7 separate regions of the Homo sapiens genome follow, and all the other regions are linked to region 5. Evidence: promoter capture Hi-C in 16 types of primary human blood cells and fetal thymus (Javierre and others, 2016). All regions are on one chromosome and are shown on one strand. Each heading gives the region's core, a stretch centred on a gene start or on the middle of the fragment in contact. The rest is flanking DNA. Distances are from core to core; before and after follow the strand shown.

Region 1 (4,139 bases), core at 1,204-3,703, 1.3 Mb before region 5:
AATTGGGCCTAATTTTCATCAGGCTCTTGACTAGACATTTGTGTTCTTGTGGATGTCAGTGGGTGCAACATGGGGGAAGAAAGAGTGCACATTTTCTCTTTCTTTTCAGTACTGTCATTTCTCACTGTAATGAGCACAAAAATAATTGGACAACTGAGCTATCAGTAAAAGGACACACTTCAGTGTGCGTCAAAGAATTATTTTACAGGACAAACTTTAATCTTTAAATGTGATTGTAGATAATTTGTGGTACCATCTGTCCATTTGGAATTGTTTTAGCCTTTTCTGTCGTTATACAGTAAGTGCTGCTGTGTTTAACATTAACATTTGATATTTTACACATTTAATTTCTGTTCTGCTGTGTAGTCCTTGGGGAACGGAGCGCTAGTGCTACATGAGAGAGACAAAGTATTGATCAGTTAACATTTCAGCTACATTTATGTATGTCGCAAAATTAATGAAAATGCCAGACAAAAATGTCAGAGTGCACAAAAAGGTAGAATTTAAATTTGGTACTTTAATGAAACATCTTAAGATGTGCATTATCAAAAATGTCCTCTTGCCTTTAAAGTACAATTCCTAACAGAATAACTAAAGGGAGATACATATTTTACTTAGAGGAACAATGAACATGAATTATGAAGGGATGTCAACTCCTCAAAGTACCTTGTGTTCCAAAAACGGCATGTTTGAATGTTTAACTGTTAGTCATAAAATACATTTCTTTCTGTTCATATCTGGAGGGCTACTGGCTTCAGCCCTCTGTCCTGAGCAGCCTACGAGGCAGGTTTCCTACTGAGATTCTCTCCCTAGGTTTTCCTTGGTATTCATGTGTTCCTTTTGTGTCAAAACCAAGAATTCCTTCTATGGCAATTCATCGAAGCCACTCTGGTTCATTATTTGTTTTTTTCTGGGTCCTTTTGAAATGCCTAGTTTTCCTTTGCTTCCAGATAATTTGTGCTCCACCTTTATTCAATCCCTATTTTAGTAAAGGATCATATTCGGGACAACAGTTACTCCCAGAAAGCTGGGCCATTATGCAGAAGAGAGAAAAAACAAAGATGTTGTATGCAAAGAATGACATGAGGCAGCTCTGTATAGCCAAATGATTAAAAAAAAAAAAGTGGAGGAAGCACAGCAAAGGAGGAGGAACTGGAGTTGCAGAGGCAATGGGAATGTAATAATGACCAAAGACAATAGGCTCCTACAGTACACTTATCATGTACTTCCTTCTCGTGCAGAAAGTCTGCTGCTATTAAACAACATATGGATTTTTAAAAAGTTATTACAAACCGTAAGGACATCTAAAGTGTCTTTCGTGATCAAGGATCAAAAAGGGAGAATTGCTTAAGAAGAAGTATCAATGTGAAAACAAAGGCATGTCTACATCACCTGTAGTTTAAGTCTTAATATTCACATTAAGGCACAATGAAATGTAGGATAATTACATTGAACATATTGAAGGTCACTTTAAGTTTATAACAGAAATATCTATTCTGAAAATTTAAGAGACAATAGTACTACCACAGCAATGAAATTACGCTTCAAGTCTATGGCAATTTTCAAATGATTTTTATAGAAGAGTTTTTGTTGTTATTGCTACAATTTTTTTTTAGCGCTAGCAGAAACGTTAGAAATGTTCTAGATGTAACTTTTGTTACTTTCTACACAACAGCAAAAGAGAAGTACTCCTGAAAACCAGAGAAACAAGTACAAAGCCAAAATGATCTACAATTGGTGGTCTTACTGTCATATTCATGAATTTCCCTAAAATTTTGTAAATATAAACTCCTAAGCCTTTTTGCCCATCTTTCTTCATGTATGTTTCCTCTGACATACACACCTACTAAGCTTACTAAACAATACTTCCAATTTAATCTATACAGATTTAGAAGCTACGTTAAACATTTTCTCACAAATGTGCAAGTAAGGGAAGAAGAAAACCTATATAAAATTTCACTGATTTAAAAGATATATATTTTTAAGGTTGCCCTAACTTCCTTTTGCAGAGTCAAGAAGTATTGACACTTAGAAGTTTCTCGTACCACAATTTTCTTTTCAGTAAATAGATTGTGCACCCAATTCATCTGGACATGCTAGTACATCAAATTGCTACTCAAAATATACATTTTCGCCCAATTTATCTCAACTCCGGAGAAGAAATTTTTTTCAAACATTGTCCAAAATTACATGAAAAATTGTAAATTAGGTTTTCCTAAGCATTGCCTTTCATAGTGCATTACATATAAATTCCTGCAATTATATAAAAGGCCCCCAAAGAGTATAAGGTACAAATGAGCTGGGTTTCAGGTTTGGTCACTATTGGCTAAAATCAACCCTGAATCTTAGGAAATATAGCAAGCCAGATAATAACAGAACCAAATATTTTCTGTAATCTTTCCTGAGGAGTGAGGCTCTAGTTCAGTTTGTGGGCCTATTTAATTGTGAAGTTATTTTTGTTTTGTTTTTGTATCTGCTAAGTCCACAGTGCAACACTTGGCTCAAATCAGTGCTTCATTCTCTTTAAATGATGCCAATGCCCTTTTTTGTTTATTTTAATAGATGTCAGCAAAAGGGCTTTCTGCTCTTTGGAGGGAGATAATCACATAAGCCACAGGGTCTGCTACTCTCTGAAAGGCGTATTTCTCCTAGATTTTATTTCATATTTACAAGAAGAAGAATTTAATCCCTGTAGAGGTCATTTTCTCATGAAATGAGGAAACTCATGTTTCCTATGATCGCTGCTCTTCCGCCTTTGTCCTGTAACGTGGAAAGTAGTAGAATGCTATAATTTTGAAAACTTTTCTTCTGTGAGTGATTTGAGGAAAAGAAAATGATTTCATTTTTTCTCAGGTATAGTGCTATTATGCTATGCTATAGTCAAAAAATTACAAATATCACCAGCATAATTATGATACCATATTGAATCTAAGAATTAGCTTTCTCATGTGCCTCAATGGTGCTATCAATAAAAGTTGGCGTGGTGGAGGACACCAAAGCCTCGGTGTGTTTTTCCTGGCTGTATGGATGCTGCCCCACTTCACTTCAAGCTTCCTCCTTGCATTACTTATCTGGTAGTTTCAGCCCCCCAGACCTTTATAAGACCCTTTAAAAATTGTTACATGGTCAATATTTTACAACTGAGTTGACTAAGGATCAAAAAATTATTAAATAATGAATCAGAGATGTCTCACTACCTGTTCCCAGATTCCTAAACCAATGTTCTTGTCTTCTGAAGGATTTTCTACTTTGCAATTGTGATTTCAATCGTAAAGGACAGACATGCTGAGCAAATTGGCAAGCCATATTCCATTGCAACATATTATGAAATAAAGTACTTTGCAAAGGAAAAAGTTTAAATAAATGATCTAATTATATAATTTATGTTAGTAAAATGTTGTAAAGTAGGAATAATAACTCTTCTGAAGGGTTGTAAATTATAACAGAGATTCAGTCATTAATATGCTTTAGTCATTAAGTTCACTCTCCATGTGTTTTCATTCCCCGTTCTATCAGGTAAAAATTAAGAAATAGGAGCAGAATGCTTTCTGTTGTCCAATTTTCCTGTGTTGACTAGATGTGCAGATATTCGTTACAATTATGAATGTGTTCGTTAATTTACCAAGCAAGAAGCTAACCTGAAATGTTAAGGAAGTTGTTCCCATTTTACTTTGCCCCTTCTCTTGCCATCATTTATCACATTTTAAATTGTAGTGAGAATTGGGATAGACACAGCAGGCTTTGCTACAGGTGGGTCTGTGAGTGATGACTCTGGTGCATCTTGTACTTTGCCGTGATGACAGAGGTCCAACACTCAGCAAGTGGTAACACTGAGAGATCAATAACAGAGTAGTCATCAGCTATTGGCTCAAATAGCTGAAATAACGAAGAGAAAATCAGAGAAAACTAAGAGGCAAGGAAAGACAGAAAGCATATCAAAGTGCAAATAGATATTTGGATTTGATAAATCAAAGTCAGCTCTCATTTTAAGGACAGGAATAAAATATTTTAGAGACAAAGTGTGGCCTTTATTTGATCTTAAATCAGTGTTTCTCTATATTTTTTTTTTCATAGTCACTGCCCTAAGGAGAAAAATTTCACTTGAGAGAAATTAAATACTAAGGGATAAGATTTTCTCA
Region 2 (3,701 bases), core at 587-3,086, 1.2 Mb before region 5:
ATTAGAGCGAGAAATGTGGTGAACACTTCTGGACAGGAGTGTGGTCAAACATATCTGAAAGGCAAAGACATAAATGAAAGAAGTGCAATGTTGCCATAACTGAACTAGTGAAAGGGGAGCTGGATTCGCCCAGTGTCATGCACTTAGAGAACAAAGCCACACCTGTCTCCCTGGGAGATAGAATAGCTCCAGAAAAGCTGACAGTAGAACAGGGAGGCAGTTTAGATTGCAGCAATTGATAGATAGAGAAATTGGCTGTAGAAAGAAGGGGAAATCTGCCAGGGCCCACCTGCTTTTCCATGCTTGATATTATATAACTTAGCTAACAAACACATGTATTAAGCTTTATCATGAAAAATATTAAGAAATGTTTTGTAGCAGTATAGGAAGATATGGGGTTATCCTAGAATTTTGGAAGTGCTGGCATAAAAACAGTTGGAAGTGGTTTTCAGGTGTATTTCACTTGTCCTGCTGTGTTCAGCAGTTTTCGTTTCTATTTTCTTGATGTAATATATTGAGAAAAACAAACCCAACCAACCTAAGGGAGGCACTGACTGTTGCTGACCGGAAAAATAAAACAAATCCCTCATAACATGTATTCCTGCTGTATTTCCCGTAGACGAATGTGGGGCTAAGGAGTTTTATTTCCTGATAGGTGGTACTATAGGTAACTTGGCGACAGACATCACTGAGGAATGCAAATGAAAACCTAAGACTCTAGGCCCAAATTAAAAGAGTTCCTCACCCAAGATTACAAAATAAGGAAACATTGTCATATTTATCCAGTAGTGCTTTCTTCAGGGCAGAGAAGATGACTTTGAATACACTATCCTCATTCTCCTGTGCCAAGGTTTGTTTTTGTTTTCTTTTAACTTTTTTTTTTCTTTCTGCATGTTGGGCTAAGCTGTCCTTTTCTATTTCTTTCCATGTCTTCTCTCACTGAGTTTTCCTTGGCATTTTTTTCATATTCTCAGCCATTTCTTATTTAGAAAGTAAGGAGTTCAAAAAATTTTAACTGATTATATTTTTCATAGGAATTTAGAACTATTATAGTTGCGTGATAGCCTCACCTTATGGTGGTAGCATTATATTGCCACTTTCCATCACCTGCCTCTAGGACCCTGCTTTTCCAGTTATAATTAGCAAAGATTGATGTTGATATTTGCTTTAGCTATTTTATAGTGGCTTTAGTGAAACTTCTCTGAACTCAAATGAGGACCAACTGTCCAAAGAATCATCATGTGGATAGTGTCATCGACTAGCATTTTAAAATATTTTGGAAGTGTTGGCAAGATACACCCAAGGTTCCTTACCATTAACTTTCTCAGCCTAGTTTCTCTCAGTTATTTGTATTGGAATTTACCCCCACAAAAGTTTAGCACTTTTTATTTATTTATTTGTGTATTGTGTATTTATTTTTAGCACTTTTTATTTTAAATGAAATATAAAGAACAGGTGAAATTTTGTTTTACTGAAATATAATTTATATGTCATAACATTCACCCATTTTGAGTACAGAATTCACTGGTTTTTAGTAAATTTCCAGAGTTGTACAACCATCACCTCAGAGGATCCTTCATGACTGATACAGTCCTCTCCATTCCCACCTCCAGCTCCTGGAAACCACTAATGTGTTTTCTGTCTCTAGGGATTTGCGTTTTTTGAACTTTTCATATAAATGGAATCATACACTATGTCCTTTACATCTGACTTCTTTCACTTAGTGTGGTGATTTTGAGTTCATGATGTAGAATGTGTCAGTAGTGTCTTCTTTTATTTTAATTTTTTGAGACAGGATCTTGCTCTGTTGCCCAGGCTGGAATGCAGTGATATAATTATGGCTCACTGCAGACTTGACCTCCAAACTCAAGTGACAGGTGTGCGCCACCCCTCCCAGCTAATTTTTAAAATTTTGTTGTAGAGACAAGGTCTCACTATGTTGCCCAGGCTGGTCTTAAACTCCTGGACTCAAGTGATCCACCATCCAAAGTACTGGGATTACAGGTATCTTCTTTTTATTACTGAATAGTATTCCTTGGATATAGCACATTTTGATTATCAATTTACTAGATGATAAACATTTGGATTGTTTCTATTTAGGGAATAACATGAATAATGCTGCAATGCACATCCGTGTATGTATCTTTATGTAGGCATATGTTTTCATTTTTCTTTGATAGGAGTAGAATTATTGGTTAATGTGGTAAATGTATGTTTACATTTTTAAGAAACTAACAATCTGTTTTCCAAAGTAGGCTTACCATTTTACATTCCTACCAATGACATACGAGGGTTCTGGTTTCTCTGTGTCTTCACCAACATTTAGTGCTTTCTGTCCTGATTACAGCCACTCTAGTGGGTGTGAAGTGGTATCCCATTGTGGTTTAATTTACGTTTCCCTAGTAACTAATGATTTTGAACATCTTTTCATGTGCTTATTTGACATTCAGATGTTTTATTTGGTGAAATGTCTACTTAAATCTTTTTCCCATTGTTTAAACGGGGTTTTTGTCTTCGTATTAAGTACTCTACATACTCTGAATACAAGTCCTTAATCAGATATATTATTTGCAATTATTTTCTCTCGATGTGTGGCTTATCTTTTCATTTTCTTAATGGTGTCTTTTGGAGCACAAATGTTTTTAACTTTAATGAGGCCAAATTTTTAAATATACATTATATATACACGCACGCACACACACAGACATTTATACAGAGAGAGAGAGAGAGAGAGAGAGAGAGAATGCTTTTGGTGTTGTGTCTGTGAATAAATACCTTGCTTACCCCAAGGCCACAAATATTTTCTCCTAGAGGTTTTATGGTTTTAGTTCTATGATCCATTTTGTATCACCTTTTTTTTTTTTTAAGAGGCAAGGTCTCACTGTGTTGCTCAGGCTGGAGTGCTATGGCTATTCACAGGCTCAATCACAGTGCACTGCAGTTTTGAACTCCTGGGCTAAGCGATCACCTACCTCAGCCTCCTAAGTAGCTAAGACTACAGGTGTTCACCTGAATTTTCTGTATATAGTAATTTTATTACTTTTAAAGATAGTTTCATTTTACGTTATTGTGCTCATTCCCACAAATACACCTGAATTTATCTTTGGAAAAGTTCAGAAGACATGTAGAAGGGTTTTTTTTTTGTTTTGTTTTAGTTTTAGTTTTTTGGGTTTTTTTTTTTTTTCGTATCCCTGACCTAATCACAAACAGCACCACCTTTTGGTTCATGTTTACACTTGCTTTTTACAATAGCCATCTACCAATAGCTCACATTTTTCCTTGAGAGGACATTAAATTTCAGAGAGATCTGAAACCTTCCTGAAGCTTGTGAATAATTTAAAAGATTGAGCAAAGTAGTCTTTAGAGTCAGTGTCCCAACAATGAATATTCAAGTAAATTGTGAACAAGAAACTGAGGATCATCATGTGAGAGTGTGACATCACATCTGAACCTACGATTAATGCCTGCTTAATATCCCCTTTTGTTTAAATAGAATGCAATATTCAATTATTCTGGAAAATTGATCACAGTAAATCATTGATTTTAAAAACTTCAGAAAATTTTCTTTAAAACAGTACTCAAAGAAGTATAAATGTTTCTTGAGAATTGTACATCAGTACCGTGTGGCTCAACAAAATATGTCCACTCCTGACAGGTCATTTTTAGAAACAGGGCTTTATGGGCAATCAGCTACAATGAGA
Region 3 (3,934 bases), core at 792-3,291, 1.2 Mb before region 5:
GCTACAATAAACAAATGAGGAAAACCAGCCTCCCAAATCATATTCTTTCAAAGATTATAGGAACATCTCATGCCAGGGGTGTAAACTGAGGTATATTTTACAGTCACAGTATAATATGTCCCATTTGCTTATTATCTATTCTGATCTGGGGTGAGGGATGTTTGGACAGGAAAGGGCTATTTCTTCTTGTTTTCTCCTACTTGGGAGAAGAGCAAATAATAAGATTAAAAATCAGGGAAGGATCCATTTCTCCTTTGTGAACCTATTGGTGCTTAAACACCCATTGAACTGATAGCCCACTCACTTTGAGTCCGCAGAAATACTATCTATTTCATCTAGAATCATAGCAACATTACAACTGGAGGGTACCCAAGAAATAATCTAGTTCAACCCACTTAATTTAAAGTGAGGAGACTGTGGTTCAGCCAAATTTAAGTGAATTGCTAAAGGATATAGACAAGTGGAAGAGCCAGACCTACCACTCAACTTTTCTGATTCCAAATTTGGCATCCTTACGCTTCCTTATGACTAGGTTTTCCGGGGGAAGGGGTATTGTCAAAGTACAGATGCAGGTTACCTCAGACATGATCTTTAAGTCTTTAGGGTAGTTCAATAAGGGAATATACCTTTCACCCCAGCTAGAGACTGTTTATTTCTAGGTTTCTACTACTTTTCACTATTTTCCTGCATATCCAATCCTTTCCTACAGTTTCAACTGAGGGAGTGTGTAGTAGGCAGAATAATATCAAAAATGCCCATGACTTAATCCCTGGAACCTATGGAGATGTCATGCTACATGACAAAGAGGAATTAAGGTAGCAGATAGGATGAAGGGTGCTAATCATCTGACCTTAAAATAGGGAGATTGTCCTGGTTTGTCTGATTGGGCCTAATGTGATCAGAAGTGGAGAGGCCATCAGAGCAGATGGCAGCTGGCAGCTGCATGTGAAGCCATGGCCAAGATCAAGCCTCAGGACCTTTATGGCAAGAAGGAAGAGCTTCTGAGACAGCTGGACTACCTAAAGGTAGAGCTCTCCCAGCTGCACATTGACAGTGTGACAGGTGGCACAGGGTCCACAATCCAACCCCCTTGTTCTCACTGTCATTAACCAGACTCAGAAAGAGAACCACAGGGCGGTCTACAAGGGCAAGAAGTACAAGCCCTTATATCTGCACCCCAAGAAAGCATGTACCTGAACCCCACAGGCTCATCAAGTATGAGAAGGACCTAAAGACCAAGAAATAACCAAGAATGAACAGCTGGTACCCACTGGGAAAGTACAGGGTGCACGGTATCAGTAAAACACAAACTAACTGGTAGGGGGTGGGGACTGCTGTTGCTGGCTTTGGAGATGGAGGAAGCGGGCCACAAGCCAAGAAAATGTCTCTAGAAGCTAGAAAGGGCAAGGAAAAGGATTCTCCCCTAGAGCCTCAAACAAGAAATGCAGCCCTGCCTACACCTTCATTTTTAGCCCAGTGAGACTCATTTCAGACTTCTGACCTATGGAATGGTAAGATAATACATTTGTGATTTCCAAGCACCTAGGTTTATAATAACATGTTACAGCAGCAATAGGAAACTAGTACAGGTAACTTCCAACTGCATTTCCTATACTTCTCCAAACAATACTGTATTTTAAAGCACTAGATCTGAGTTCCTCATTTGTCATTATTAACTTCATCCCACTGGTCTATATAAATACAGCTACACAATTTTTCATATAATATGAAAACTGAAAACAGTATCTAACAAAGCAAATATTTTTATCCAAATTTCTTAATTTTGATTTTGGAAAAGCTTGTTCAAAAATGAGAGTGGGTTATTGCCCATTTTTAATGCAGTCATATACTTTCTGGTTTAGAAGTCTATATTATTAATTGGCGAATAGAGAAGAAATTCATGGTTTTCTTCATTTTTCAGCTGAAGAATTTTACTTCTTCTCAACATTAATTCCATTCCTTAAAATGTTTTACCCTTCAAAGGACAGGGAGTTTTAGTCTTATTTAAGTCACAGACTCTGAGAATCTGAAGATTTACACTTTCTCCCCAGAAGAGGACACAAAACATGCACACACACATAATACACAAACTTTTTTATGTGCTTTTTTTTTGCCATGGAAATTGAATTATTTTACAGAGACTATAAAGTATCTTTATAAAGTCATCTTTGTTGCCCTCACCACTGTTCTCTTGAACTTAATGCCTGTTTCCTCAAACACCTGAGATAAATACAAATTTTACAAGTAAAAAATAATGTTTCATTCAATTCCAAAGCAAGCTTCTACAAGAAGGGTGGTGTTTGGCTTGATTGTGATATTATGGAGTAGTTTTGAGGCAGCAATGGGCTTGTTATCTTTGATATCCATTTGACTATGGCTTTTCAGTTTCATGTCAATAAGTGCTGGAAACACTGACTTGGCGAAAGAAAACAGTAACACAATGGGATCTGCTGTGGCTTTATTAGGTGATGATTAGGCACGGTGAGGAATCCTGGGGTTCTCCAAAATCCTTGTCGAATTCATATTGTGTTGCAATCATCTTTTGAAAACTCTCCATCATTAATGCTTCATCATATTTTAAAAAAATAATTACATACTCATGCCTCTATGTTAAAGTCATTGGAAACAGAACTAGCTTTCAAAGAGTTTTCTAGTGATTCCGGCTGGTGGTGGGTTTCTACCTGTCAAGCTTTGTTACACCTTGTTCCACTTTGCAGAAGCACCTCTCCAGTCTTGGAATGTTTAGGTAGATATCTGTCTCCAACATTCCCTCCAAAGTGGCAGTTGGGCTAAAATAATTTAAATGAAAAGTTTTACATAGCTAACTTGGTAAGAATGTCCATCAAGTAAAGCAAACTATGAATGGACTCTTTCCTTTTGGGTTATTCTGATAGTTGGATTTTCTTTGCCTCAAAAAAAGAACTTTCATTTAAGAGTCAATCAAATGTTTCAAGACAAGTCCTCTGGAAAGCTAGTTAACTTCTGTATTGCAGCAGTGAATTTCCTCTTCTATTCCCCTTTCTTGACAAAAACTCTCGAAATAGCAGTGTGTCAGCCCTGGCTCTCGGGAGGTTGACAACATTCATAGAAATAGACACGATTTTTTCAGGATCGCTGGCAGAGTCGTTGACACGGCTGACACCACTGCATGTTGAGATGAGAAGCATGTTTCTTCACCAAAGCAGCAGAACCAGATGTGTTGCCAAGCATCACAGATGCTCCATCTGAACCCAGGGTGCCAAGATTTTTATTCCGCCTGAAACTTTGTTTGGCAAAGAAATTCTTCACCATTTTAAAGACATTGACTCTGCAGATTCTAAAAGAAATTCACAAAGTAGGAATTCTTTGATTTTAAGAACTTGCCAACAGGAGTTGGCTATATAAATAGAGGTATCTACTTTCATTAAATTATATACAAAAAGGTAAATATTAAAGAAATGTCAGAATATCTGTAGAGTTGACATCATTTGATGTCAGTGAGGGCACAACTTCAAGAAATGTGTGGCTTCACTGAACTATATCCAGTGGCATCTGAGTTATCTTTCTTGGTGATATGGTTCATTTATTTTAAAAGTTTCAATACAAGTCTTTTTTTCTTGGGGCAAATCCAAAATCAAGTAAAGTCCCAGAGTTTAAAAATCGACCTGTTTTTATATAAAGAAAAAGATCCACAAAGTCTAATAAATTTTTAGAGTAGGCAGTCTGAGGTATTCCTTCAATTTTATTGGTTCTGTGCTTCTATTGGTTAGAATATTGCCACACAAGAAGTTCTGTAATTTTTGTGGTCTATCATACTCCACAATTAATATAAAGCTATAATAGATATGAAAACCTCATGGGGTTACTGGTTTTTTCAATTTTTTATTGATATATAAGAATTGTACCTATTTATGGATTATAAGTGATATTTTAATGTATGATCAAATCAGGGTAA
Region 4 (3,826 bases), core at 1,010-3,509, 1.3 Mb before region 5:
GTCAACTCCCTGGAGGACCAGAAGGAACGAGAGGAGATATTAAAGAGATATGTACGTATGTAACCCTCCTCCTTCCAGAGACACATGTGACTAGATCAGGTTGTAAACAATTTACCTGGAGGGACAGAAGTACTTCTGAGAAGTTGTCTGGTGGAAGAATTGGCACAAGTAAAAAGCTGAGTGAAAACAAATGCCACACAGACCTTTGCCGAAGTATTTGCATTACCCACCCATGTCTAGAGACTTGATCTTCTCTAGATTCTCTTCCAGAGCAAATTCTGGATTCTGAGATTCTACTCAGTGATTTTATCATGCAGGGATGCTACCCATATAGGAAGGCCAGGTTTATACAATGTGACTTTAAAATTAATTTATTGATTCTTTGTAGCTGCAATTAAAATGTCTTTGTCTTTCCAAGTTTGCGATGGAGTTAATGGTACTTACGTTAATTAGTACGCTGGTAACTAAAGAGTATCCACAGGAATGATTTTTATTTTCAGCTGCTCAGGAAAGCCTCACTTCATTCCTTTAATTTTTTTAATTGAATGTGAAATAGAATTAAAGGAAGTCTTCTGCTTTTTGATCGAATGTGGAACGATAGTATGGAATAGTGAATCACTAAAATGACTACCCTCTTCAAATTTTACCTAACTGAAATATTCACAACCAAATCTTACTATTTCCCAGCATCCTCCCGCTGGACATTTCCCACCATGTAGTTTTCTTGAATCAACAGAGAGGGGAGCTCTTACTCCACCATTCTCTCTCAATGAAGGTTTGAAAAAGTAAATGCCTTAGTACCCATGAAGCTGGGAAAAAAGCTTTTCCACTTAAAATGACAAAGCTTGTATTGTACAGTGCCGCCAGGTGTTTAGAAGGCTCCTCTAGACACTCAGCCATGAAACCAAGCTCTAACAAAGAACCACTTTTTTTTTAGACTTTAAAATATTCCTATTTGCTGACTGACATCCTTTCAATAACTGAATTTAATAAAGATGTACCTTATCAGTCTGTGCAGATAACATGAAGTGCTGGTACTAATGCTCTACAATATTCTTCAAACAGATTAGCAGGATGTGCGCTTCAGCAAATTTATTCTGGCTATCTCCACTGAATCAGCTGTCTGCTAATGCTTGTACAACTCATCCACCAATGGTGTTATCATAAACAGTTTAATAGAGGTGACTTAGCAAGGCTAAATAGTATATATTTTTAAACCACCTAAGAGCCTAAGATATTGTGTGACATCTTCTAATATATAATTGCAGTTATGAAGATTATTTTACACTGTGGTATCCACCAAAATATATTCTTCTGTTACCAGAAGTGAGCCTCATGAATTACAACAATTTTAATGGAATTAATCAGTATATTAATATAAAAATTCTTCTAGGCATTATACTATAGTTGATGGATTAATATTTTGATATTATCCCGTATATTAAGGGATACTGCTGCCTAAGTAATTAGAAGTAATCCACCTATTATTAATTTTTTTTCTTTTTGCTGGATGGCTGAATGGCAATTGGCCATTTCCATTCAGAATTTGAATATTTGTTTCCATGTCTTTTTTCAATAAAATGTAAAATATTATGCGGATGTTTGACTTAATTCTCAGATTGTATTCTGCTCAATATATTCAAAAATGAACTATGTTTAAATATACTTTTTTTCAGCCTTGAATTTCAGGCAGAGGCCTATACCTCCCTCTAGAGACATACCTGCTACGAAACCACTATATGCAACATAGCACATCTGTTATATTTACTCATATCCATAAAAGGACAAAGACCTATGGATTAGGATTTCAGTGTGTTTCCCTTTTATTATAAGGATCATGAAATGAATGAATGAATGCCATATCATTTCTGAAATATCATTTGTTTTGGAGAAACATATAATGGAGGTTGTTTGGAGAATTATTTCTATATTTTCCTGCAAGAACATGTGTATTTTTAAAAGTTGAGGTCAAATTTAGGAATTTGACATTGGTCACTGTCAGGGAAGCAAATAAATTGCCCCCACTCTGATATGAAACAGCCCTAAAAAAAGCCCTCCATTGCTGTTGTTTAGCTGTTCATTGCTAAGGATTGAAGCCCCACAAATTAAACAAACATCGCTCTGTGAGCCATTTTTTGATCACCACATTCTGAGAAGATGGCTAATTCCATTTTTCTTTTTTCCTCTTTTAGGGGGAGGAAATGAGGGAAGGTCAATAGGGGGCGGGTAGTAATGGGTAGTAGACCAAGAGCAATTGTATGACCTTTTCAGAACGGGTATGCTGAACCCTTGCTCCCCCTTGTCACAGTTTAAAAACCAGAGGAGCTAGTTTAGAGAAGAAGTTGTTAGCATTCCATTTTTATTATGACATTTCACAGTCATCTGATTTAATGTCCCTTGACCGGATTGTCCACCGTGAGACGATGGGCTTGAAATGTTATTTAGAGCATTGATAAAAGGTGAGCGGTTCTAAGATGACAGCGAGTCATAAGGCTGGTGGTGTGACATTAATTTTCTCCATAACAGAGATGGAATAAGACGTCACGGTGACAAGCTGTCAATCAGCTCTGGCCCCTCAGAGCATCTCGATGCCATAGGATGGGGTATTGCCTCTCCCGTAATAGAGCTGAACTGAGATGCTCTCCCTGACAGCTGCTGCAGCCATAGAGAAAATATATTATACAGCCTTTCATTAAAAAAATAAAGAGGACTCCTCTCCAGAGCATTTCAATCTTTTCCCATCTATTGAGGGCTGAAAGGATTCACAGCAAATCATAGATTCCTCTGCTATGGAAATTTCTGGCTTCAGAAGCCATCCGGGTTTTTAGGCCTTCTAAAATAACCGTAAATAGCAAGGCAGGAATACCTCTTGATGAATACCTCTTGATGAAGTTATGTTTTTAAACCAATATATTTATTTATTTATTTATTTATTTATTTATTTATTTATTTTTACTTCTTATTATAATCGATGTGTCACTGGCCTAAACCGTTGAAATTTGCAATAAATTATGGAGTGTCAGCTGACTTGGGGAAATGAAACCTTCAAACAATAATTACCACTCCAAATGGGAAGCAGAGGATCAGAGCCGAAGCACCTGAAGACAATATGTCTGTGGAATGAGGCTACCAATGTGAAAGGATTCTCAGACATAAGGACTGATTATATTCGTCTTAGTCAAAATAGAACTTGATTTAAATTGCCTCTGAAAATTAAAGCACGGAAACCTTTTTTTGATAAAACTATTCCCCATCATTAGGGTCGAAGACTTACCTGATTTACAACATTGTGTAAGCTCTGAGATAAGAAACTTTCCAAACTTGCTGTTACTGTAGGAACACAACGTGCCCACAAACCTCTGAATTATATTCTGTTGTCTAACGCCCCCACAGTGAAACCCTTCATTTACAGGAATTTAAATGGAGAGAGAAGTGCATTTTTACTGAACCTTGTCACCTGGGTATTTTAAATAGATTTTTGGTGATAAACAACTGTTTAAAAACAATAAAAGATTAACAGTTAATCCTCATGCTAAACACTCTTATAAAAAGTTAGGCTATGAGATTACTCATGTATCCGCATTTCCTCCTCTCAATATACGAAGGTCATAGTTTCAGTGTAAACAATTACTGGTCATACGGGACTGATAAAGTTCATATTGCAGTAAGCTTTTGCTTGTCAGTATTCTCACATTATTAATATGATGATGGGAATGCTTTTTACTCTAGTAACATTTTAATAACTTTATAATGCAAAAGTATGTTACGTTCTCTGGTTATGAAACATTTTATAAATTATGAAAAAGAAGTACCTTTGATTTACAGA
Region 5 (3,953 bases), core at 582-3,081:
GGGGGAGAGAAAATGGGAGGCTAAGGTTAGCCAAGCCTCCTGCACGCCATTGGTTGGAGAGCCCCTCCCCCCTCCTCTTTTGCTTTCTTTCTCCCCCCCCCGCTTAGCTACCTACAGACTGGGATGGTGTGGGGAGGAGGAGAGAAAGTGAGGGAGGGGGGTGTGTTTCTGACAAGCGCAATTTACATTGAGATCGCCCTGCGCTGCTATTTACTCTGAGACCTGATTAGTATGGGTCGTCTATGGTCACACACACACACACATACACACACACACACTTACGCTCACACCCCAGAGGGGGAAGGGATGACGAGGGGGAGAACGCCTAGCGATGGGCAAAAGGAGAATTAGAGGGAAATTATTTTGATTTCTTCTGAAAAGTTTTTAAAATTAGATTTTATGAGCGTGAAGAGAGTGTCATTGAAAATGTTTGGAAAAATTTTTAATGGGAATGAAACCCCCACCATTTTAATGATTTGTGAAATATACTGGATTTGGATTGTTTTCTTCTCTCACATATAAGCACAATCCAAGTCTGGATTCTGCTCATTTTATATCCTTTTTAGAAACAAGTAGAAACAGGGTAGGATCTCCCTATTTTTTAATCCAAAGTATACCTTGGTTTAAAAGGTTTAATGATGACAAAGCACACTCCTGGAATTTGCAGCTATTGCCACAAATTCGATCGGAATCAAGGGTTCCTATTTATCCCAAAGATGATTTTAAAAATAAACTTTCCAATCAATCCAATTTTTCCTTCTTCTTTTTTTTTTTTTTTATCACCTGGCTGTTCCAAACTCCAACAATGCTTCAATCATTATTAATAAAACAGTAGTAAGTCCCCATATTGTTGCAGGGTGGGGGGAGATTAGTGTGGCCAAGTCAGTCCCGGGAAAAGAGCAAACAAACGAGAAGATGGAGAGGGGGGGAGGCGGAGAGGGAGAGAGAAAAGGGGGAGGAGGAGAGAGAGAGACAGAGAGAGAGGAGAGGAAAGGAAAGAGAGGAGAGAGGAGAGCGCGCGAGATATTGAGAGAGAGAGAGAGAGAAGAGAGGAGAGGGGAGAGAGAGAGAGAGGAGAGAGAGAGAGACCCAGAGAGAGAGGAGAGAGAGAGAGACCCAGAGAGAGAGAGAGAGAGAGAGACCCAGAGAGAGAGAGAGAGACCGAGAGAGAGAGGAGAGAGGAGAGAGAGAGAGAGGAGAGAGAGAGAGAGAGGAGAGAGAGAGAGAGAGAGACGAGAGGGAGAGGGAGAGGGAGAGGGAGAGGGAGAGGGAGAGGGAGAGGGAGAGAGGAGAGGGAGAGGGAGAGGGAGAGGGGGAGAGAGAGAGAGAGAGAGAGAGAGAGAGAGAGAGAGAGAGAGAGAGAGAGAGAGAGAGAGAGAGACCGAGACCCCGATTCCTGAATCCTGAAGGTGATTGGTCGCGGGAGGAGGGGCAGGCGGGAGGAGCGGGTCCCGCGGCGGGGCTTGCAGGAATCGCTGGCTCCGGCTGCCACCTAGCGGACGGGAGCCGCTCCCGGGCGGCACACAGCCGAGTCCCTCCTCCCCTCCCCGCAGGCAGCCTGTGCCTTTTCTCCAAACGAAGACAGCACTTTGAAAATTCTTTCAATGGATTTTTTTTTCCTTGAAAGATCGTACTGGGGGAAAATGATACTTCTATTAGTTACATATTCTCCAATCGCATACTCGCACCCCCCTCGTTTTGAGATCGCTCCCCTAGGCAGGCTCAGGCGGGCGCGGAGCCGCGCGGAGTGACAAAGCCGCCGCTGCCGCCGCCGGGGGTGGGAGCCGCGCTCGCCCGCCCGCCCCTCGACTCGCGAGGGCGTAAAAGTTTGTCTCAGCTCGAGCATTCCTAGCGCCAACACGCCCTCAGGTAAAGGTGGAAGTAAATGGCCACGCTGTATTGACAGAGGTAGGGTTTGTTTTTTAATACTCGTTCTCACTTTAAGTCTCACCAGGGAGGGGTTTGGGAAGCACTGCGTGTTTGGGGGACGTTTTGCGCTTCCTGGTCTCTCCAGCCTACAAGTCGGGAGTCGGCGACCGCTTAGTGACGAGCGATGATTTTAAAGAGCAGAATAAAAGGTTTTCCCGTGCCTGCCCCACAGCCCCTCCAGCTCGAATAATGGAGAACTGTCAATGCACTCCGCGAGCGGTGGCCCATTGTACGCAGCTGATGGCGAGGAGGCGACTGGGGGTAGCAGGGGCTCCTTGCCCTCGTCCCTATGCCCAAATAAACGCGCAAACGCGCTCCCGTCTTCTGGTCAGTTAAAAGGTGAAACGAACACGATTAAAATAGACCAAAAGAAAAGAAAGAAAAGAAAACCTTTCTATGTACAGATTCTAAATCGTACTCCCCATACAGTCAGAGGCAGGGAGTCGAGGGCAGAGGCAGCAGGCGGAGAGAGGGAGATAGGGCGAGGGAAGGAGAACGCGGAGAGAGACGAAGGGAGTGGGAGACCAGCGACAGCGAGCGCCAGGGCACCGCAGGCACACTGGATGCCCAGTCCGCCGGCCCAGCCGCCCTCGGACCCTGGACCGTGCGTCGTGGGCACCAGAAACGAGACTCGGCCAAATCCTGCCTCACCAGGCAAGTAACATAATGGTTGTCGTTTCTCTTGAACTTGGGGTTGGTAACGGGCAGGGCCGGGAGGCAGTCTTGGCTCGCACGGCCTCCGCAGGCCGAGAGCAGAGTCTAGGCAGCCAGGGCGGGACGAGGAGAACTTTCTTCGGGGCCTGCTCGGGAGTTGCCCTCGCTCGGCCTCTGTCTCGCCGTAGCGCTAAGGCGAGGATCGCGGCCGCCGCGCCTCCTTGGAGGGGAGGATCGTGCCAGGCGAGCAGCAATCCACATTCAAAACAGGCTGCTCCCACCCCCACCCGCTATTCCCTCTCTCTCCTAGGCGGGAAACGGATGCCCGGGCGGAGGACGGGGACCCGCACGTTTAACACCGGCCCGGCTGTTCCTGCTGGTGCCGAGCGCGACCCGCGGTGGAGCCGGCTGCAGAGTCCGGCCCGGCTGGCCCTTGTGCCCGCGCCTTGCCTGGTTACGGCCTGAACCTGGCGAGCTTGGCTGCAGCCGCCCACCTGCGGACGCCGTTTGTAACGCCATCCCCTAATGTAACGCGATCGATGGCTGCCTGTCTGATGTGGGCGATAGTGTCAGCGGATTAAAAGGGACATCGAGCCGCTCTCCCGAGCAGACAACCTGCGGCGGCGGCGAGAGAGCACCGGGATTCGCAGCCTAGCAGCCGAGCCAGACTCCCTGCGCCGCTGCCAGCCGGCTGGGGGCGGGGAGGGGGTCGCCTCCCAGGGGTGGGGACAGAGGGGGTGTGTTGAAAGGAAGAGGCTCAATTAAAACCAACAAGAGCGCTTTCCTCCGTGCGGGGCAGGGGCGTGCGTTTGCGTCAGAGGGCGCGCGGGGGGCGGGGGCAGCCGATGCTGGGGACTGCACCCGGGGGCTGGGGGGTCTCGGAAGCGAGGAGGCCTTGCCTAGCTGGGCTGGCCCGGGGTCAGGCCCTGTAGGTGAGGGCCAAGGCGAGACGGGATGACAGCTGAGCCTGCCCGGGAGCAGAGGCGCCCACCCATCCTTACTGTGGGCTCTCCGTGCCCCCACAGAGCTTTCAAACTTGAAAGAGGCCCCTGGGACCCGGCGTGACCCTAGCGGTGGGGAGAAGTTGGGCCCGCGAGGCCTCAGGCGAAGCCGCGGGCTCCTCCGGAAGGAAGGAGGAGGGTGAAGTCCCCTGTCCTAGTCCCAGGGGTGGGAGTGGGAAGCTGTTGGTGGTGATGCCCGGAGCAGCGGAAGCCCGCGGCTTTTCGGAGGAGGGGAGCGGCTCGCACTCCTACGGGGCATCCTTGCCAACTTTCTGTCACAAGAGGGGGCGGGGAGAAACCAAGGCTTTTCGAGGAGGGCGCTGTCCCCCTCTGGAACTCGTCCGGCCTGAGTGGCACTTAGAGCTCAGT
Region 6 (3,657 bases), core at 281-2,780, 1.3 Mb before region 5:
CCTGCCTCAGCCTCCCAAGTAGCTGGGATTACAGGCATCCGCCACTACACCCTGCTAAGTTTTGTATTTTTAGTAGAGACAGGGTTTCACCATGTTAGTCAGGCTGGTCAAGAACTCCTGACCGCAGGTGATCCATCCGCCTCTGCCTCCCAAAGTGTTGAGATTACAGGCATGAGCCACCGCACCCGGCCAAGGGTGTCCTTTCACAGTCCTTTTTGGTACTTGGTGTCTATTCTACAGCCTGAGCAGCTGCTTCCAGCTAATCTACTGGAACATTTAGAGACATAGCAAAAACAAAACAAAAAACTACATTATTTTTGCAAAAACACAACCTTTCTCTCTACCTAATAAATCAGTCAATTCTCCTTATTCAGATGCACTGGTCCCAAATTGCAAATTCCCAGACCCCATGAACTCTTCTCTACTATTGTGTCCAGTTCAAAGCAATCTCTTACTTGCATTTATGTGACACTTCTGAACTTTTGTGTCTTTAGCTTTAGTATTGACTATTTTGTTAGTGCTCTTCTTTTCTACATAAACCACTCTAAAATTCTTATAAAGAGACACAACTAATGGCCTCCAAAACATTGTTAACAATTCATTGTTTTTTTGAAAGATGTTTAAAATAAAACCTCACTAATTAGAACCAACCTTGAGGGAAAGCCTATTATCTAACCCCAACCTAACTTCCTAACCTTGTGTCTTACGTACACTCCTTTCTTATCCCACCCATGTATTCCATCTTCTAGGCCAGAGTTAGCAGACAAATCGCCTACATCCCATCACCTCTGATGCCCTTTCTTGTGGCAGACATTGTAAACTGATCACAACATATGTGTTTATACACATACACACGATTGTAATCCTCAAAAAACCACTCTATGTACCCATTACCAGTTGTTCAGAGTTGATTCTCAAGCTGTACTTGTTTGCCATTCCCTAATTCTTTGTGAACGTGTCTGTCTTCCCTTCTGAGTTTGAGCCTTTAAAGGATGGAGAACAGGTTGCATTTGTTAATTCTACTCAGGATGTGGTAGAGGGCTTTGTATGTATAGCAAATTGTCAATGTCGATGAATTTTTGTTAAATTTTATCTTGTAGGCCAGTCTAGACTGATAAAAAATATATTTCATAGAATTTTTTATATATAAGCTTTATCTTTCATCCAATGGAAAGCATAATATAGCCAAGTGGAATCACTTGGAATCAAGAATGTTTTCTCATTGTTTTTAATATTAATGGTATCATTAAAATAAGAGAGTTTTCACATCCAAAGCAAATACTCTGTCCCCTGAAATCCTTTTTATGTTATTATAATTTTCTTTAGCAAACCCTTTTATCAGGGCAAAAAATCAATTGCAGCTTCTCTAAATTTTCACAAAGCCTGATTAATAAAGTTTTCACTAATGGTCTTTTCTATATTATTTCTATCATGTTTCAGTAATAAAAAGCAGGTTGCTAAAACCACTTTATATACTCAGTTGTGATATCCTACTGTCATGATTAGTAGATATATTGTTTATTCATAAGATAGCATGCATCACATTCACTTTGAGGAAGAACATTCTAAAATAGTTGGATTTGCTCTATCTTTATCATATTGCAAAGATAAGAGGAAGGAATTGCTTGTGGCCCTTTGTTCCTTGATGATTTTTTCCCCAAACATATTACTAATTAATAACTTTGCTGAAAATCTAAATAAATCAGAAAGATGAAATAAAATGAGACATAGACAAGAAAAGATTGTTGTTGTTTTTTAGATGACACAATCCATATGTTAGCATTTAAAGAAGAGCTTGTTTGCTTATGAAGTGAAACATGCCCTTTTTCATAGTCACAATCTATAGACCCAGTATGTGTGTGTGTAATTTTGATGTGGAAGGAAACATAAAATCAAGTAAGAAGCTTTCTTTGCTGGAATACTAATAGTCTCTCAATAAGTTTCCCTAATGTCTACAGGGGGAAAAAAAGACCTTAGCACCTTTTAATTTTGCAGCTGTTTTTACACTTTTATTTCCTCTTCTTTCCTCTCACATTTACACAAAAACCTTCTCAAGTCTCTTTTAAGCACTGCAGCAACTAAATCAATCCTAAGTGGCAACCACTTCTAACAGCGTTGCGTATGACTGTGTGTTAATTAGCTCCAGTAGATTATCCCCTGGTGTGTGGTGGGGTGTTGGTGGGAACTTTTCAATGTGCAGAGAGTGCTAAGGGTTTCATGTTTATTTTCATGTACTGAGGCAAATTCTCAGGATGTCTTCAAATTATCTCCTTGGGGGTGTTTTTCCTGAGCTAATCCTGACAGAATCTTTCTATCAGATATGCCCATCATCAAGAACAGTAGAACGGTGCACATACAGGAACCTCTGTGCTCGGGGCTGTATGCAAATTTAATGCCCAGCTCATTTCTGTTTCTCTTACATGGATGACAGACATTTTAACAATGTGTTCCACATTCCCCTCTGGGAATCTAGTTGGATTCCTGAATGTATATGAGTGCATATATACATCCATTCAGAATGTGTTTTTGAATACAATGTGGGGAACATATATGCATAAAAATGTATCTATATATGTATATATAAGCACATTTATTATGAGTAATGTGGATATTGGGATGCATATGTGAAGATGGGAGTCAAGCTGCTGTTGATCAGAGATGTGTCTACATCCCAGGGAGACTAATCAGCTGCTGAAAAATGGATAGGGTAGAAGAACTGATAAACAAATCTATTCTGAATATAATTCCACAGTGTTTGGGGTGGGAGTTGTGCCACTATGAAATGGTAAGTAGCAACAGCATAGAAAAATCAGCTTTGTTTTTCAGCTGGCTTTAATGGAAAAAATTATATCCTAAGAACTTTTCCAATCGAAATGCCAATCTTCATGATTGACCATAAATTTGTGACTGAAGTTACCTTTGCTATCCTTGTATCCGAGATTGTCAACATAAGTACTTTCTTGGCAACACCATTGTTTTATTTTCAGTGGCACCTTTCTGTCCTGGGGATATGCCTTTCTATTCCTGTTTCCGTTCCCTGGGTGGACTGGGCTGGCAACCCTAGAAGTACAAGGGAAGGGCACACCTACTCGTCACCTTTAAGCCTCGGTCACATGCCAAGCAGCCAGCTCTATGCTTTTCTATCTCCTTTGGCACCCCAGTGTCAAAGATGCTGCCCACATTGAGTACTTACTCTGTGCCAAGTATTTAGCTGCTCTATATGAAATGGCCAAGTGGCCACTAAGGGTGGTATGTTCCATCAACAATTTCCCTTCCTCACCTTCCCCCCACCCCAAAATCCACCTCAAATAAACCTAGCTGCTCAGCAAAAACAGCTTGCTTAGTATCCAGATGCAGCTTCAAAACAAATCTCTTATATTCCAGATAGCAACACCACCTTTATAGAAATTAGGAGATATTGTTGTCTAGACTATATTGCAAATATTATATGATTTCATTCTTACAAGAGTACTTGTGTCTCATGGTAGAACTCCATTTTAGGAGTGAAAACTAAGGCCAGTGAGATTGAATCACTTGCCCAATAACACATAGGTGGTAAGCCCTGATAAATCCAGCTCTTTGATTACTAAGTGTGAGATCTTTTCCTCTCCCAACCCAAAACTAGACATAAAGAAAAAAAAATGGTGTTATATGAAA
Region 7 (3,997 bases), core at 151-2,650, 1.2 Mb before region 5:
GAATCAACAGCCAATCAGATGTTGGTAGAAAGCTTATCCCTTGTGACCCCTCTCAAAGCTGTTCACCAACTGTTTAGCCTTGTTAGATAATCACTTGCTGTACATAGTGCATCCCAACATGTTAATAACCATCGTCATCAGGCTTTGGATTTGCACCAACAAGATTTCTACATTTTCTTCACTCATCCCAAGTCCCCCCACCACTGTCCCCTCCCTCTCAGTAGATGACCAGGCCTTCCACTTTGCAAATTTCCCTCAAATTCCAGCCCTGAGCCCTATGAATTACCCAAGTTAGGGTTGCCAGATTGAGCAAATGAAAACACAGATGCCCAATTCAATGGAAATTTCAGATAACAACAGGACATACTTACACTTATATGTTTTTATAATATTCTTAATTTGTCTGAAATTCCAGTTTAAGTGGATGTTCTATATTCATCTGGTAACTCTATCCCAGTTGTACCTTTATTCTTACCTCCAGACCTGTAGGAAGGTGACAGTTCTGAAATAAAGGTATTCCCCAACATCTTCAAGCATAGAAGACCCATAAGGAGCAGGCCCCACTTAAACCATAGTTTCAGCTTCATCCCTCCAATATTCCAACAGGATTGTTTATGTGTATGTTGTTGTTGTTGTTGTTTTGCTTTTGTTTGTTTTGGAGTATGCAGTGTTTATTGAGCAAAAGGTGGGAGTAGTGGGCTAAGGGTGAGGAAACAGAAATGAACCAGACCATGGCCATACTCTTTTGTTATCACTTTCTTCTGGACAGCAATTGCTCGCCACTTGGGAGAGCAGGAAACCAAGCCACTTGCAAAAGCTAGCACAGCACAGCTGGATGGGAAGCACAGCTGGCTCACAGGCCTGTGTTCCCTGCTTTAACTCCTATTCACCCAGTCCACAGGCTCAGGGAAGGCAACCCCTTTTGTCTTCATGACACAACTGGAAAAGAGGAAAAAGGAGTGATGCTTCTGCCTTTGGACAGATGGAGAAACTCAGGCCCAGAATAAGGCAGTAATATCCGCAAAGCCAGTACTCACAGAGCGTGTGTGGGAATGGCACAGCATGGGATAGATGTGGTGGCCTGGAGAAGGGCAGTGCAGGCAGGGTCTGGAACTTGGCAGAGGCCTGGAAGTCACGTGAGCACTGAGGACAGATGTGCAGCGTGGTGGAAGAGCTTGAAATCCTTGCCCAAGGTGCCGCACATGAAGAGTTTGAGGTCTGAGTGTGATGCATGGTGTCTATGCAGCTGCAGGGGGCTGGCAAAGACACAGGTGCACTGTGGGTGGCTGTAGCCCCTGCAAGGCTGTACTCTTATGGGGTGCATCATCCTGGGATGGTCTTCGGGGCTCCTCCACTGGCACAGCAGACTTGTAGGCAAGCCGGTTGGCGTCGATGAGGAAGTGGCTGTCCAGCCATGAGGGCTATGACCCACCTGAGAAAGGTGCTGGAAGAGGGGCCTTTCACCCTGGGAAAAGAAGACCTTCAAAGATAGTGGGTCTGGAGAGGAGGACCAGGGTGGGGTAGCCCCAGTGGTCACAGGAGTATCTGGAGCAGAGTATACTTGTAGTTTCCCAAATATTCTATATACTCTTTCTATGCCTTCTACTGTTTTCTTTAAAATATACTTACAAATGTAAATGTATATTTCTTATCACACATATTTTGTTTTTTATAAAAATTGAATCACCTTTAACGCATTTTAGCTCACCTACTTTTTTTATTCTGCAACATATCTGGAAATATCCTTCATATTCCTGGAAAACAGCCCACCACGAGTTTTAATTTCTATACAATTTTCACTATATGAGTGTGTGTGTGTGTGTGTATTTTAGAAACAGGGTCTCCCTCTGTCACCCAGGCTGGAGTGCAGTGGTGCCATCATAGCTCACTGCAGCCTCGAACTCCTAGACTCAATCAGTTTTCTCACCTCAGCCTCCTGCCTAGCTGGGACAACAGGTGCGAGCCACTGCACCAGTCTTCTTAATTAAACACTGTTTTTAGAAATGTTTCCTTCAATTTTTTTTTTTTGAAACAGAGTCTCACTCTGTCACCCAGGCTGGAGTGCAGTGGTGTGATCTCGGCTCACTGCAACTCCCACCTCCCAGGTTCAAGTGATTCTCCTGCCTCAGCCTTCTAGTAGCTGGGATTACAGGCACCTGCCACTGCACCCGGCTAATTTTTGTATTTTTTTCTTTTTTTTTTTTTTTTTTTTTGTAGTAGAGACGGGATTTCGCCGTATTGGCTAGGCTGGTCTGGAACTCCTGACCCCAAGTGATCTGCCTGCCTCGGCCTCCCAAAGTGCTGGGATTACAGGCGCGAGGCACCGCGCCTGGCCCGCTTGAAATATTTTGCCTTCTCAATACTATAAAGAAAATCCTAAAGAAATTTTTGGGTCCCTTTCTGGTAATATGCTTTGGAAAGTCCTTGAAGAATTTCTGGGTGAGAGTATATGCATTTTGAAGGTTTTTGGTAGTTAATATTAATTTGCCACCCATTAAGCCTTTAACATTTTATACAGCTGTGCCTGGGTAACCACTAATTATCATTATTATTTCTTCTGGAGCACCATCCCTGACACTCACCCCCTACTACCAGTCTGACCCTACCAACTCATACTCTTAAGAGGTTAAGTGAGCCCACACCTCTGAGTTCCCACGTCTGTCATAAATTTGTTTCATATAGTTGCTGCTTAGGCATCCATTTTAAGGCCCGACATGAGTTATTTGAAACCTAGCAGTACCCGTCCCCTTTGGCTAGTTAAAGCTTACCCTCTCTGTGTGGTTGTTTATGCTGCAGCCCACTTGCTTCTCATCCTATTAACCCAACACACCCCACAGCTGCTGACCATGATGAACCCTAATGGTTAGCACTGGAGCCAAGTCAGCATTTCCCCTCGTGCTCTCTTTAAACCAGCCACGGGATAACATCCATGGACCTTAATAAAGGCATAGTCTGGTGGGTCCTCTTTTTCTCTTGCGTGCCGCACCCACTGGTTGAGCTCCCTGTGGCCTCCAGCCTTCCCTGGGCCTCCCATTGGCATCCCTAACCTCTCTGGGACCAGTAAGTACTAAATTTCTTGTTTTATGCACTTTGGGTTCACCTCCTTAATGTGTCTCGTCTGACTGACACACCTGAGTCTTACTTTCCTCTCATCAGAGCACTCCTAGAAAGTGGCTATCGTGGCTCATGGTCACTCTCAAGAGACAGACCTCACGACCAAATTAGAAAGAAATCATAACAATAAAAATCACAACACTCTCAGTATATTATCATAACTGGCTCACTGTGGGTCCTCCTCAGATTGTTCTAATTGAATCTTCCATTTGTGTGTCTAATCTCAACACAGCAAAATGGCTCGGACCATTTTGCTCTGAGTTACTCAAAAAATGTTTGAATGAAAATATTTTAGTCTGATCTTTCCTTCCAAATAAAAATTATCTAATTTTTATGCAAAATTACTTTCATTCAACAAATATTATTGAATATTTATAGGCACTAACAGTACAAACTGTGGTTCAAAGATGATGAAGACACACGCCTTGCCCAGGACAGTTTGTGGTCTAGTGAGAGAAACAAACAACTGATAGAATACATGAATATAATAGGTGCAGTGATAAGAGGTCTGTATACAGCATGCAGAATGTTTAGTCAAAAGACATTTAGATAGTCCCAGATATATGTGTGTGAGTACTGCATATATAATGAAACGGGATTAAATATCTACCTGTGGCCACTGTTTGTTCTTCACGCCTCAGTCTGTTGCTTTCACTTAGTAACTCCATGTTTGGTTTTAATACTTTTTGAGTTTATTGGCTATCCTTTTACTCAATTCTCAAACTGCAGTCCAACCTAAAATTGAAAAGATAAAATGGTAGAATGGTGGAAGATGAGTATTACCAGTACGTGACATGTCAGTTCAAATAGAGAAAGATGTAAAGGAAACACTTCTATTTTTAAAAGTCAATTTACTAAAGATTCTCCTCACTGGAATGCACAC

What was found. The method cuts DNA at HindIII sites, captures the fragments that hold promoters and counts their contacts. A CHiCAGO score of 5 or more calls a contact.
Region 1: a contact is called between a fragment that was not itself captured here and the fragment with the promoter of NR2F1-AS1 in region 5, in 1 of 17 cell types (fetal thymus). The highest score is 5.8, in fetal thymus.
Region 2: a fragment that was not itself captured here is called in contact with the fragment with the promoter of NR2F1-AS1 in region 5 in 1 of 17 cell types (fetal thymus); the score reaches 5.6 in fetal thymus.
Region 3: a contact is called between a fragment that was not itself captured here and the fragment with the promoter of NR2F1-AS1 in region 5, in 1 of 17 cell types (fetal thymus). The highest score is 8.3, in fetal thymus.
Region 4: a fragment that was not itself captured here is called in contact with the fragment with the promoter of NR2F1-AS1 in region 5 in 1 of 17 cell types (fetal thymus); the score reaches 9.1 in fetal thymus.
Region 6: a contact is called between a fragment that was not itself captured here and the fragment with the promoter of NR2F1-AS1 in region 5, in 1 of 17 cell types (fetal thymus). The highest score is 10.8, in fetal thymus.
Region 7: a fragment that was not itself captured here is called in contact with the fragment with the promoter of NR2F1-AS1 in region 5 in 2 of 17 cell types (fetal thymus and total CD8 T cells); the score reaches 9.4 in fetal thymus.

The regions. Positions count from the first base shown.
Region 1 is chr5:94,860,808-94,864,946 of GRCh38, reverse strand. All of the region lies in intron 17 of MCTP1 (multiple C2 and transmembrane domain containing 1), which reads left to right. Among named protein-coding and RNA genes, the nearest start is that of MCTP1-AS1, 120 kb to the left of the region's middle. The HindIII fragment of the contact is 1,199 bases long and covers 1,854-3,052 here.
Region 2 is chr5:94,811,939-94,815,639 of GRCh38, reverse strand. The region is part of intron 17 of MCTP1 (multiple C2 and transmembrane domain containing 1); the gene reads left to right. Among named protein-coding and RNA genes, the nearest start is that of MCTP1-AS1, 160 kb to the left of the region's middle. The HindIII fragment of the contact is 2,981 bases long and covers 346-3,326 here.
Region 3 is chr5:94,769,422-94,773,355 of GRCh38, reverse strand. All of the region lies in intron 19 of MCTP1 (multiple C2 and transmembrane domain containing 1), which reads left to right. Among named protein-coding and RNA genes, the nearest start is that of SLF1, 150 kb to the right of the region's middle. The HindIII fragment of the contact is 481 bases long and covers 1,801-2,281 here.
Region 4 is chr5:94,890,874-94,894,699 of GRCh38, reverse strand. MCTP1 (multiple C2 and transmembrane domain containing 1) reads left to right here. Exons shown (of 23, transcript NM_024717.7): 11 at 1-51. Among named protein-coding and RNA genes, the nearest start is that of MCTP1-AS1, 86 kb to the left of the region's middle. The HindIII fragment of the contact is 2,825 bases long and covers 847-3,671 here.
Region 5 is chr5:93,579,097-93,583,049 of GRCh38, reverse strand. It overlaps NR2F1-AS1 (NR2F1 regulatory antisense RNA 1), which reads left to right and starts at 1,831. Exons shown (of 8, transcript NR_186187.1): 1 at 1,831-1,908. RefSeq lists a silencer at 1,386-1,435 and an enhancer at 1,556-1,655. The HindIII fragment of the contact is 7,751 bases long and covers 1-3,953 here.
Region 6 is chr5:94,840,555-94,844,211 of GRCh38, reverse strand. All of the region lies in intron 17 of MCTP1 (multiple C2 and transmembrane domain containing 1), which reads left to right. Among named protein-coding and RNA genes, the nearest start is that of MCTP1-AS1, 140 kb to the left of the region's middle. The HindIII fragment of the contact is 753 bases long and covers 1,154-1,906 here.
Region 7 is chr5:94,789,329-94,793,325 of GRCh38, reverse strand. The region is part of intron 18 of MCTP1 (multiple C2 and transmembrane domain containing 1); the gene reads left to right. Among named protein-coding and RNA genes, the nearest start is that of SLF1, 170 kb to the right of the region's middle. RefSeq lists an enhancer at 1-86. The HindIII fragment of the contact is 2,731 bases long and covers 35-2,765 here.